Linked DNA regions of Homo sapiens: all the other regions are linked to region 3. The links are contacts of gene promoters, found by promoter capture Hi-C in human tissues and cell types (Jung and others, 2019). All regions are on one chromosome and are shown on one strand. Each heading gives the region's core, a stretch centred on a gene start or on the middle of the fragment in contact. The rest is flanking DNA. Distances are from core to core; before and after follow the strand shown. Region 1 has its middle 51 kb from the start of LINC02725. Region 2 overlaps NTM (neurotrimin). Region 3 holds the start of TMEM45B (transmembrane protein 45B).

What was found. The method cuts DNA at HindIII sites, captures the fragments that hold promoters and counts their contacts. A contact is called where the count stands out against the background at its distance.
Region 1: a contact is called between a fragment that was not itself captured here and the fragment with the promoter of TMEM45B in region 3, in 1 of the 25 tissues and cell types used here (stomach).
Region 2: a fragment that was not itself captured here is called in contact with the fragment with the promoter of TMEM45B in region 3 in 1 of the 25 tissues and cell types used here (aorta).

Annotation. Positions count from the first base shown.
Region 1 is chr11:128,043,132-128,046,344 of GRCh38, forward strand. No RefSeq gene overlaps it. Among named protein-coding and RNA genes, the nearest start is that of LINC02725, 51 kb to the right of the region's middle. The HindIII fragment of the contact is 4,935 bases long and covers 1-3,213 here.
Region 2 is chr11:131,622,885-131,626,028 of GRCh38, forward strand. All of the region lies in intron 1 of NTM (neurotrimin), which reads left to right. Among named protein-coding and RNA genes, the nearest start is that of NTM-AS1, 39 kb to the right of the region's middle. The HindIII fragment of the contact is 6,012 bases long and covers 1-3,144 here.
Region 3 is chr11:129,814,360-129,817,368 of GRCh38, forward strand. TMEM45B (transmembrane protein 45B) reads left to right here and starts at 1,489. Exons shown (of 6, transcript NM_138788.5): 1 at 1,489-1,539. LOC124902793 (a long non-coding RNA gene) reads right to left here and starts at 328. Exons shown (of 2, transcript XR_007062952.1): 1 at 1-328. The HindIII fragment of the contact is 7,942 bases long and covers 1-3,006 here.

The DNA.
Region 1 (3,213 bases), core at 361-2,860, 1.8 Mb before region 3:
ACGTATATGTATATGTGTGTGTATGTGTGTGTGTATATATATATATGCCTAGCAAAAGGAAGGAATGTCAATGAAACCACAAATAGGAAGATCAAATTGGATCTCACCCATCTAAGAGAATGGATACACACACACACATACACACACACAGACATATATATATATGTATATATTTCATGTGTCTCTATGTGTGTGTATATCAATCTATCTAAGTTTTACACATTATATACTTATAACCTACAATTGGAGATGAGGATTAGCTTTTCTACACCCACTACCATCCCAGATTCACCTACTCCCAGCTTCCTAACATAGTTATATCACAGCTTTTAGTAAAATCGATAGTTCACATTCTTATGAGTATCCAAATATTGTTCACTATTCTACTTCCATCTTTCCTATAAGCCCTCTGATGCTGTTGTTGCTCTTCTTTTTGGAGTTATTTCCTCAATTTTTCATTTACCTAGTTTTCCATAAAGTAACTGATATTTTTTCAAGAATTCTAATCTCTGCCATAGGCCCAAAAGCATTATTTTTCATATACTCAGATTTGCCCTCTGTTCTAATTTGTACTATTTTCTGTGAAGGTCTTCTTTCCAGGTATAAACCTGAATATTTCTTTTGATGCTCACTTACATTAGTTATTCTTTTTGCTAGATGTAAAATTTTCCTCTTGATCTCTTTTTTCTTTAATTTTTTGTTCAAAAACATATTATAATATCATCCTGAAATAAGGTGGTAATAAGTTAGTTTTTCAGCTCCAATATATCAGAAATATTTTATCATCACATCTGATAGTGTATCTGGGTATAAAATTTGATGCTAAGAGTCTTTTCAGTCAGAATTTTAAAACTGAAGCTCCCTTGCCTTCTAACTGCCAATCTTATTGCTTAAAATACTGTTGCTGAACTAATTCCCAAGACTTTGAGAGGTAATAATCTGGAGTGGTTAAGAATGAAACCAGCTGGGTTCATATCCCTATTTAACCTACCGATTTAGCCAAGTGACATTTGACAAGTTATGTAAACTCCCTGTGTATCTCTTCCCTTCTCTGTAAAATAGGGTGTGATAAAATTCTATTCAGAATTAGTCTTTGTCTTGGTTATTATTATCTTTTGATGATTTTAATTTAGAAGGAGGAGAAAATGTTTTGGGTAAAATTCACCTTTGTGGGACCTAATTTTTTTATGGATGAACATAAGTTTCAGCTAATGATCCATAACAGAGATTTGCAGTAAAACACAGCATGTAATACTAAGCACATCCTACACACACAAATACAAACCCACTAAGTTATGGTATGTCAATTTTTGGAAAAATAACATGTATTATGATACTATTCAATTTGCAGTCTGTAAGTTGTAATTTTATTGTGAATAGTAAAAAAAAAAAATAGTTCACCAATAGTCTTTCTCTCTGAGGAGATGCTTTCCAACTTTAAGCTCCACAGTCACACAAAGTTAGAGGGAGATTATAAGTGACGCATATTGCAGCTGAAGATGGTTAGAACTCTTAGAAACAGAAGTGGTGGAGAGGAATATTCTCCTGGGGGAAAATATTCCTTTCTTGAGAAAATAATAAATAAATATGGTGTAAACAGATAAACTTAAATAGAGAAACAAAATTAAACTTTCTATTTTGTTCAATGATAGGTTTTCTCACTCTTTAAAAGGTGAAAGTGGACTACAAACCTGCAGAGGAGATTCACTATGCCCTTCTTTATCCCAATTTGACCACATATCTCCCTGACTTTTGATTTTACATTAATAGGCTCTGGAAGATTTAAACAAGCTTGGGAAAGTCTGCATTTATATTTCATTCCCAACCAGTTAGTTATCAGATCTAGCTATATGGATCTGCACTTACATTTTGGAGATTCCACATAGAAAGGAGAAAATCCATGTAGACATGGAGAATGGACACATTAATTAATTGAAAAGGGGAACATGAGGAAGGGCAATGATACAAATTTCATTAGTTCAGGTTCACTAAGAAGCAGATTCCAAATTGAGATTAGATGTGTGAGACATTTATTGACGGAGGGATCAGGAGAAGGTAGGGAGAGCCTTCAGAGGCTAACACCTATGAAAAGTCCTACCTCCCACAGGACTGAGCCTGCCCTAGTACCCAATGCAGTCAGTCATTGGTTGAGAGTAGCAGGAAGAAACACAGTAGGAGGTCCATATGGGGTGGTGAGTAAATTAGGCTCTCCACAGCAGGAAATCTGAACTTCACAACCTCTTTGCCAACCACACAAGCCAAAATCTAGTCAAACAATTTTAAGACACAAATTTACAAATTTGTTAATTGAGTAATGACCCATCGTTTGCCATTATCCAAGCATAATAATTTATTGTTTTAAAGTGAATTTCCCTCTGTTTATTATGATAATTCGTGCTAGGAATGTGCTACACACCACAGATGTGAAGTTGAGTTTTGGAAATATCCTGATTTGGAGATGGAAAATGTGGGCCGTTTGTTCCACATGGTTGTGTAACTTACTTAACCTCTTCTTCTCAGCTTCCCTGTCTGCAAATTGCTGCAGCTATTTTATTAGAGCATTTTTCTAAAGGCTAAAATAGTCTATGTAAAAATTATTGGGAAGTACTATGAAAATTACTGTTAGCAGGGACTGAGACTGAGGCAATGTTTTCATGTAATGTAAGTTCTTAGGAAAGCAGAGACTCTTATTTCATTTAATCCATGGTTATCTTTTAGAACAGAAATAAATTAGAGCCTGGCTAATAAAATTTCTATTAGAAATTTCATTTTCCAAACATTAAATAGCTTTTTAGCCTAAATTTTTTATCATAAACTCAAAAGCTAGTTCATGTCTTTCCTGTGTATTTTTTGTCATGATAGAGCAGCTGCCTATTAAAAGTTATCATTATGCATTTTTCATTCCATATATCTCATTCTTACATTTTTGTATGTATATGCTTGTTATGATTTATTTTACTAAAGACAAATAATAATATTCTATAACATGTATTGATGACTTATTATGTAGCAGAAACTATGTTAACAGGGAATCTAACTACATTTGTTGTCTTCTATATCCTAAGACCATAATGACGATCTCTGAAACAGTACTAATTTTCCAATTACTCTTATCTTTAACTGGAAAAACACAATGAAAATTGCAGAACTCCTTTGGGGAGAGTTATGTTGTGCAATAAATAAAGTTATTGTAGTTTCATAAATCTTGGACAC
Region 2 (3,144 bases), core at 84-2,583, 1.8 Mb after region 3:
TTGTCACTAACACACTGGTTGCCTTCCGTCCAGGTGCTCTCATTGGTACACTAGACTTCAAATTGGCGTTCTCCTGAATAAAACAGAAAAAGAGAAAGAGGAAGAGGAAGGGAAATAGCTCTGAAGAAACAACTTATCTCAAACGATCTCAGAAACTCACCTGCTTAGGAGACCCACAGCAATCATGGGGTGCCCATAGACACAGGGGCTTCTCTATACCGGAGTTTTACTTTATAAGCCCACCATGCAGTGGAGAGACTACCTTAAGTGGCAGTGTGGGTGTGAAGTTTGCAATCAGACTATCAAGGCTGACTTTTGATTCTCTTGTGTGATCGCTGGGTGACCTTGAGAAAGTCACTTTCCTTCTCTGGGCCTGAGCCCCTTCCTTGGCAGCATGGATGGACATCCTACCTCCCAGGACTGTTTTGAGAATCCAGTGGAAATATATGTGAGAAAGATTTGCACCCAGTAAAAATCGTATACAAATATGAGATATCATTAGAATGAGTTCCTTTTGATTATTCCATAACTAAAGCCCTTGGCTCAAGTCCGAGACAGATGCCATGCTGTCCACCGAATTCCATTTTATACCAAATCATGTTAGAGAGTCCAAAGTATTTCCATTTTAAAATCCCATCTTCGGCTGCTTGCATGTTTAAATGAAAATTCATTTGGATAGCAGCATGCTAGGAGCAAGACAGCAGTAACTAAATAAACAACTAATCAGCGATGGGTTAGGCCTCTCTATAGGGACGCGGATGGAGGACACTTGCAGTGCGCCTGCCTGGAGTGACCCCCGCAGATGGTTTTGGGCTCCAGTGTGTCCCCCTCTGGGCCAGGCCCACTCTCCCTCCCTTGGGAGGAAGCACACAGCCCAATTTAAGCACCCAATGTGTAGGCTGGGAATGGAAAGGAGATAATGGTGTGTGTTTGCTTTGTTAACTTATCCATTTTGTATCCTGCTTTTCTTCCACTGTTAGCCAAGGAAAAACCTCGGGGCTGCCGTAGCTGGGCAGGAGGAAATGAAGGGCCTACCCTGGCCGCTCCGACCTTGAGTCTCCTCATCCACTCTCACCCACAAAGGCAGTTGCTCTGACCGAGGTCACTAAAGGCTCTTAATTCTTTCTGTGAAAGACAGTGATGGAGCCATGTCAGGGGGTTTTTGCCCCAGTCATTTCCTGGGGCACCTTGTACTCTGTGCAGAGGCTGTGTCCTCACATTTGTGATTGAAGGCACAGGCAGACAATAGGGTTCAGATTCCATTTTCTTGGCTCATAAGGGCGATTCTCTGGCAGGTCCCTTAGTGCGGTCCGGCCTGGGTATCCTGTCCCTCTGCGTCCTGCCCTTATTCAAGGACCAGCGTTTCCAGCACATCATTCAGTGGCAACATGGCATCGTGTCTCTGCATTTAGAGGGCCACTGATCAGCACTGTGATCTCAGGCAGCTGATCTCAGATCATGGCAGCACAGTGGTCTCATTAGCGTCCTCATCTGTAGAACGGGCACAGCACTATCTACTGCACAGAGCAGTCCTAAATATTAATTGTGGTCCTGCAGGTACAGAGCTAAGCAAGTGTCTGTGGCCTCATAAGCCAGGGACATCACAGGAGGTCTTCCCAGTGGCTCCCACCCAGAGCTCATCCTGCTACAAGTTCTGAGCCATTGGAGAGCTCCTTCTATTATTTGCTGATTCATTAGGGCCTGCCTTTGACAGTAGGACTCATGGCCACTCATAGTGTTGTATTACTCATAGCACTTAACATTTTACTAAGCATAGGATGGACATTTAACAAATGATTGTTTTGTGCTTTGTGAAGTCAGATGTGCCCATCCACGCTAATCACGGAGGAATCCACAGCCTGTGCACAGGGCGAGTCCCTCTATCTTTGGTTCATGCTTCAGTTTGCTGGAGCCATTCATTCATTCTTTCCTGGAGTATGTCTCACATGCCTACCGCATGCCAGGAATCCAGGAGGTGGTGATGATCAGGCAGCCAGGATTTCTGTCTCCACAGAGCATACAGTTTAGTTGGCTGCATTCATATACCTAAAGCATTTTTGCTCCCTCAAAAAAGAAATTATCAATGATTCCAAGTACTTAAAAATCACCATAACCTGAAAAGCTTGCTGGGTTGTAAGTAACAACCTCACCTTATTCTGTTTATCTGTCACTGAGCTGGAAACAGTTACAAAGTAGGATGTGCTACACTGCCTATTGAGTTTATTTTGTCTTTTATACAGAAATCAACCTTGTAGAGGAAACCACATCATTTAAAAAAATACTCAAGCTCTATTTTAAGGGTGTAAAGTGATCACATTTTCTGGAGATGAATGTGTCCCTTTGAAAGCACCTGACTACATCAGAGGCCGAAATGCAGATGTGGGGGGCCACCCTGATAAGGTCCCCCCATGATGGTCTTTATGGACCCCTCTGAGCAAGGGGAGACTCTCTTGTTCCATTTCTGAAAAGTGGCAGAGGAAGGAACAGGTGCCTTCGGGATTCAGAGTTAATCAAATCCACAAAAGGCAATCCAGTCGCTTCTTGGGATTAATAGAAATTAGTCCACTGGAGACTTCTTAGAGAAAGAAAAGCAGAGAGAGAGACAAAGACAGAGAGACAGACAGACACAGAGAGAGACTGAAAAGATGAAGGAGGGAGGATAGAAGAAAGGCTTCATTTTTTTTTTTCAGATAACGTTCCCCAATAACATACATATAGCCTGGTGCACAGAATGTCAGCTCAATGAATTGTCACAAACTAAACACACTCAAATAACCAGCATGCCAATAAAGACACAGAATGAAGCATGCAGGAATCACCAGGCCCTGTTGTGCTCACAGCTGCCCTCTTCCACAGGTTAACCTCCAACTTGATGCCAGCCTCCCTAGATAAGTGTGCCTGCTTTACAACTCACATGAGTGAGATCACAGAGATTCTTCTCCTCTGTGGCTGGCTTCCTCTGTTCCACATGTGTTTGTGAGATCCAAGCATGTTGTGGCCTATATTTGTGGTTGTCACTCTCATTGCTGTGTAGTGTTCCATTGTGTGAATATGCTACACATTATTTTATGTACTGTACTTTCGAAGGGCATCTGGGTAGTTTGCAGCTTTTATCTGTGGCACGTGGCTACAGTGCACATTTTT
Region 3 (3,009 bases), core at 239-2,738:
CCTTCGCAGGGAGTGTTACACCTCTTAAAAGTGGTGCGTCTGGAGTTGTTTGCTCCTCCCTGTGGGTTCGTGGTGTCGCTGACTTCAGGAGTGAAGCCACAGACCTTCACAGTGAGTGTTATGGCTCTTAAAGGTGGCGGCTCCAGAGTTGTTTCTTGTGGTGGCTTCCTGGTCTCGCTGGTTTACAGGAGTGAACCTGCAGACCTTCACTGTGAGTGTTAAAGCTCATAAAGGTAGTGTGGACCTAAAAGGTGAGCAACAGCAAAATTTATTGCAAAGAGCGAAACAACAAAACCCCAACACCATCGAAGGGGACCCAAACGCAGCTGCCGCTGGCTCGGATGGCCAGCTTTTATTCCCTCATTGGCCCCGCCCACATCCTCCTGATTGGTCCTGCCCACATCCTCCTGATTGGTCCATTTTACAGAGCGCTGATTGGTCCATTTTACAGAGTGCTGATTGGTCCATTTTACAGAGTGCTGATTGGTCCGTTTTTACAGAGTGCTGATTGATGTGTTTACAAACCTTTAGCTAGACATAGAGCATTGATTGGTGCATTTACAATCCTTTGGCTAGAGAGAAAAGTTCTCCAAGTCCCCACCAATTAGCTGGACACAGAGCACTGATTGGTGCATTTTTACAGAGTGCTGATTGGTGTGTTTACAAACCTTTAGCTAGACACAGAGTGCAGATTGATGCTTTTACAATCCTTTAGCTAGACAGAAAAGTTCTCCAAGTCCCCATCCGACCCAGAAGCCCAGCGGGTTTCACCTCTCAGTAGCTTACAGAAGAGGACCCTGCTGCCACAGCACAATACCACAAAGAAAGTCATGCTCTCCTCAGCAGGTAGCCCCCTTCTCCGGGACAGGAACTTTGTTTCCTTCTTAGCTCTATCGCCAGCACCTAGAACAGTGCCCACCTGTCAGATCTGTTATCAGATGGGAACATGGCAGATTTGTTGAATGAATGAAGGAATGAATGAACTATGTGACACTCAAACTTAGCCACCAAACTTAAACTAAAAAAACTGGGTTGTGGTCCCTGATGGACCGTTGGCACCTTCTTCCTTTGCTGGACGGTGATCCGTGGCTGTTTCTGCGGTGTGTTCGCAGTGGTTGCCTGGCTTGGTAACAAACACTCTTCGGAGCCACAGCCTGTTCTCAGGGTCCTCGCCGCCTCCCAGGCCCTGCGATCTCTTTGCATCTCAGGAGGTCCAGGTTGGTTGCAGTCCTCTTGGGTGACTCAGGAACCAGCCTCTCCTGAAGCACACAGCTTAGGGAGTTCCTGAGGCCAGAGACATCTCCACGGGAAAGTCAAAGGCCTGGAGGAAGTGCGGACCTGACGACAGATGCCCCGCACGCTGGCCGGGACCGGGAAGGGCGGTCAAGGGTGGAAAGGGGCTGGCGGCTGCCAGGCCTGGCGGAGTGGAGCGGGGCGGGGCGCAGCGGGGCGGGGCGGGCCTGGAGCTGCACCTGCTTCTGGGCGGACGCACTTGGCGCGCGGCGCGGGCTGCAGACGGCTGCGAGGCGCTGGGCACAGGTCAGACGTCCGTACCCGCAGGGGGCTCGAACCTGGAGGAGGGCTCGAAGGGAGAGGGGGCCCCGCCAAGGAGCGGGGCTGTGATGGAGAGGAGGTTCCGACTCGCAGGGGACCTGCGGGGGAGGGGACGCGGACAGGGAGGGGCTCTGGGACAGGGGTGAAGGCTGCGCTAGGGGAGGACGGGAGGGGATGGAGGGCCCTGGTGTCGCGGAAGCCCAGCTGGGGCCCCCTCCGGGCTGCGGAACCGGTGCGCACACTACTCCCACCGCCCCCGAGTGCCTCTGTCCGGCTGGCCGCGGCCCTGGAACGAATATTGCTCAGTCCCCCGCGAGTCAGGTCTGCCGCGTTGCCCGGTGAGGGGAAGGTGTGAAGCCCCGGGCCTCCGTCTGCCCGGTGAGTCCGGGGACGCGCGCCCCCGGGGATGCCATCTGGCTCCTGGGCTGTGACCAGTCACAGCTCACATAGCTCTGGGCACTGGTACCGACTGCCTTTCCTTGTTAGCTGCGATACACAAATACACGAGCCAGATCCTTTCCTGAGGCCAGGAAGCCTGGAATCTAATAACACCGGGCGGTGGATAAAGTCCCCCGAGCCAGTGCTTAGCTTCCGTTAATGGAGCCATGGATGGAAGCGGATGTCAGGCGCAGTGGGGGAGAAATTTGCGGGGGTGGCCCTGTCTAGGGCCAGAGAAACAACCTCTGAAGCTTTGATCCAGCCCTAGAGGGAAGAAAGATGTGAGTTTCAGCCAGGGAAACGTAGCACTTTAAGAAATAGAAACCCTTTCAAAATTTGAGGGCAGGTAGCTCTCCTAAAAGTTGCAGAAATGGCCACTTCTTTTTTTTTTTTTTTTTTTTTTTGAGACGGAGTCTCGCTCTGTCGCCCAGGCTGGAGTGCAGTGGCGCAATCTCGGATCACTGCAAGCTCCACCTCCCGGGTTCACACCATTCTCCTGCCTCAGCCTCCCGAGTAGCTAGGACTACTGGCGCCCGCCACCACGCCCGGCTAATTTTTTGTATTTTTTTTTTTTTTGGTAGAGACGGGGTTTCACCGTGTTAGCCAGGATGGTCTCGATCTCCTGACCTCATGATCCACCCGCCTCAGCCTCCCAAAGTGCTGGGATTACAGGCGTGAACCACCGCGCCCAGCTAGAAATGGCCACTTCTTTCACGTTCTCTTCGACCGCTTTCTGCGGTGTCTGCCCTTTTCCTCCTCCTGCACCTTTTTGTCTCCTAGGGTCGCATAGCCTTCCAAACAGGCCTGCCTACAGCATTTTACCTGCAATTTTACACTCATTTTAATAGAAAGGATGGCTTATTGTTCATGAGAGACGTGTACTGTTTTTAACCAGATGTGTAATATCTTCAGTATAACCTGGATGTTGTGCAGTGGGAAGTTATGGAAAGAATCAGGACACGTGGTTAGGTAGGGGCCCAGGGGCGTCAGACTTAGCTCTTTGTGACAGTGAGCTTC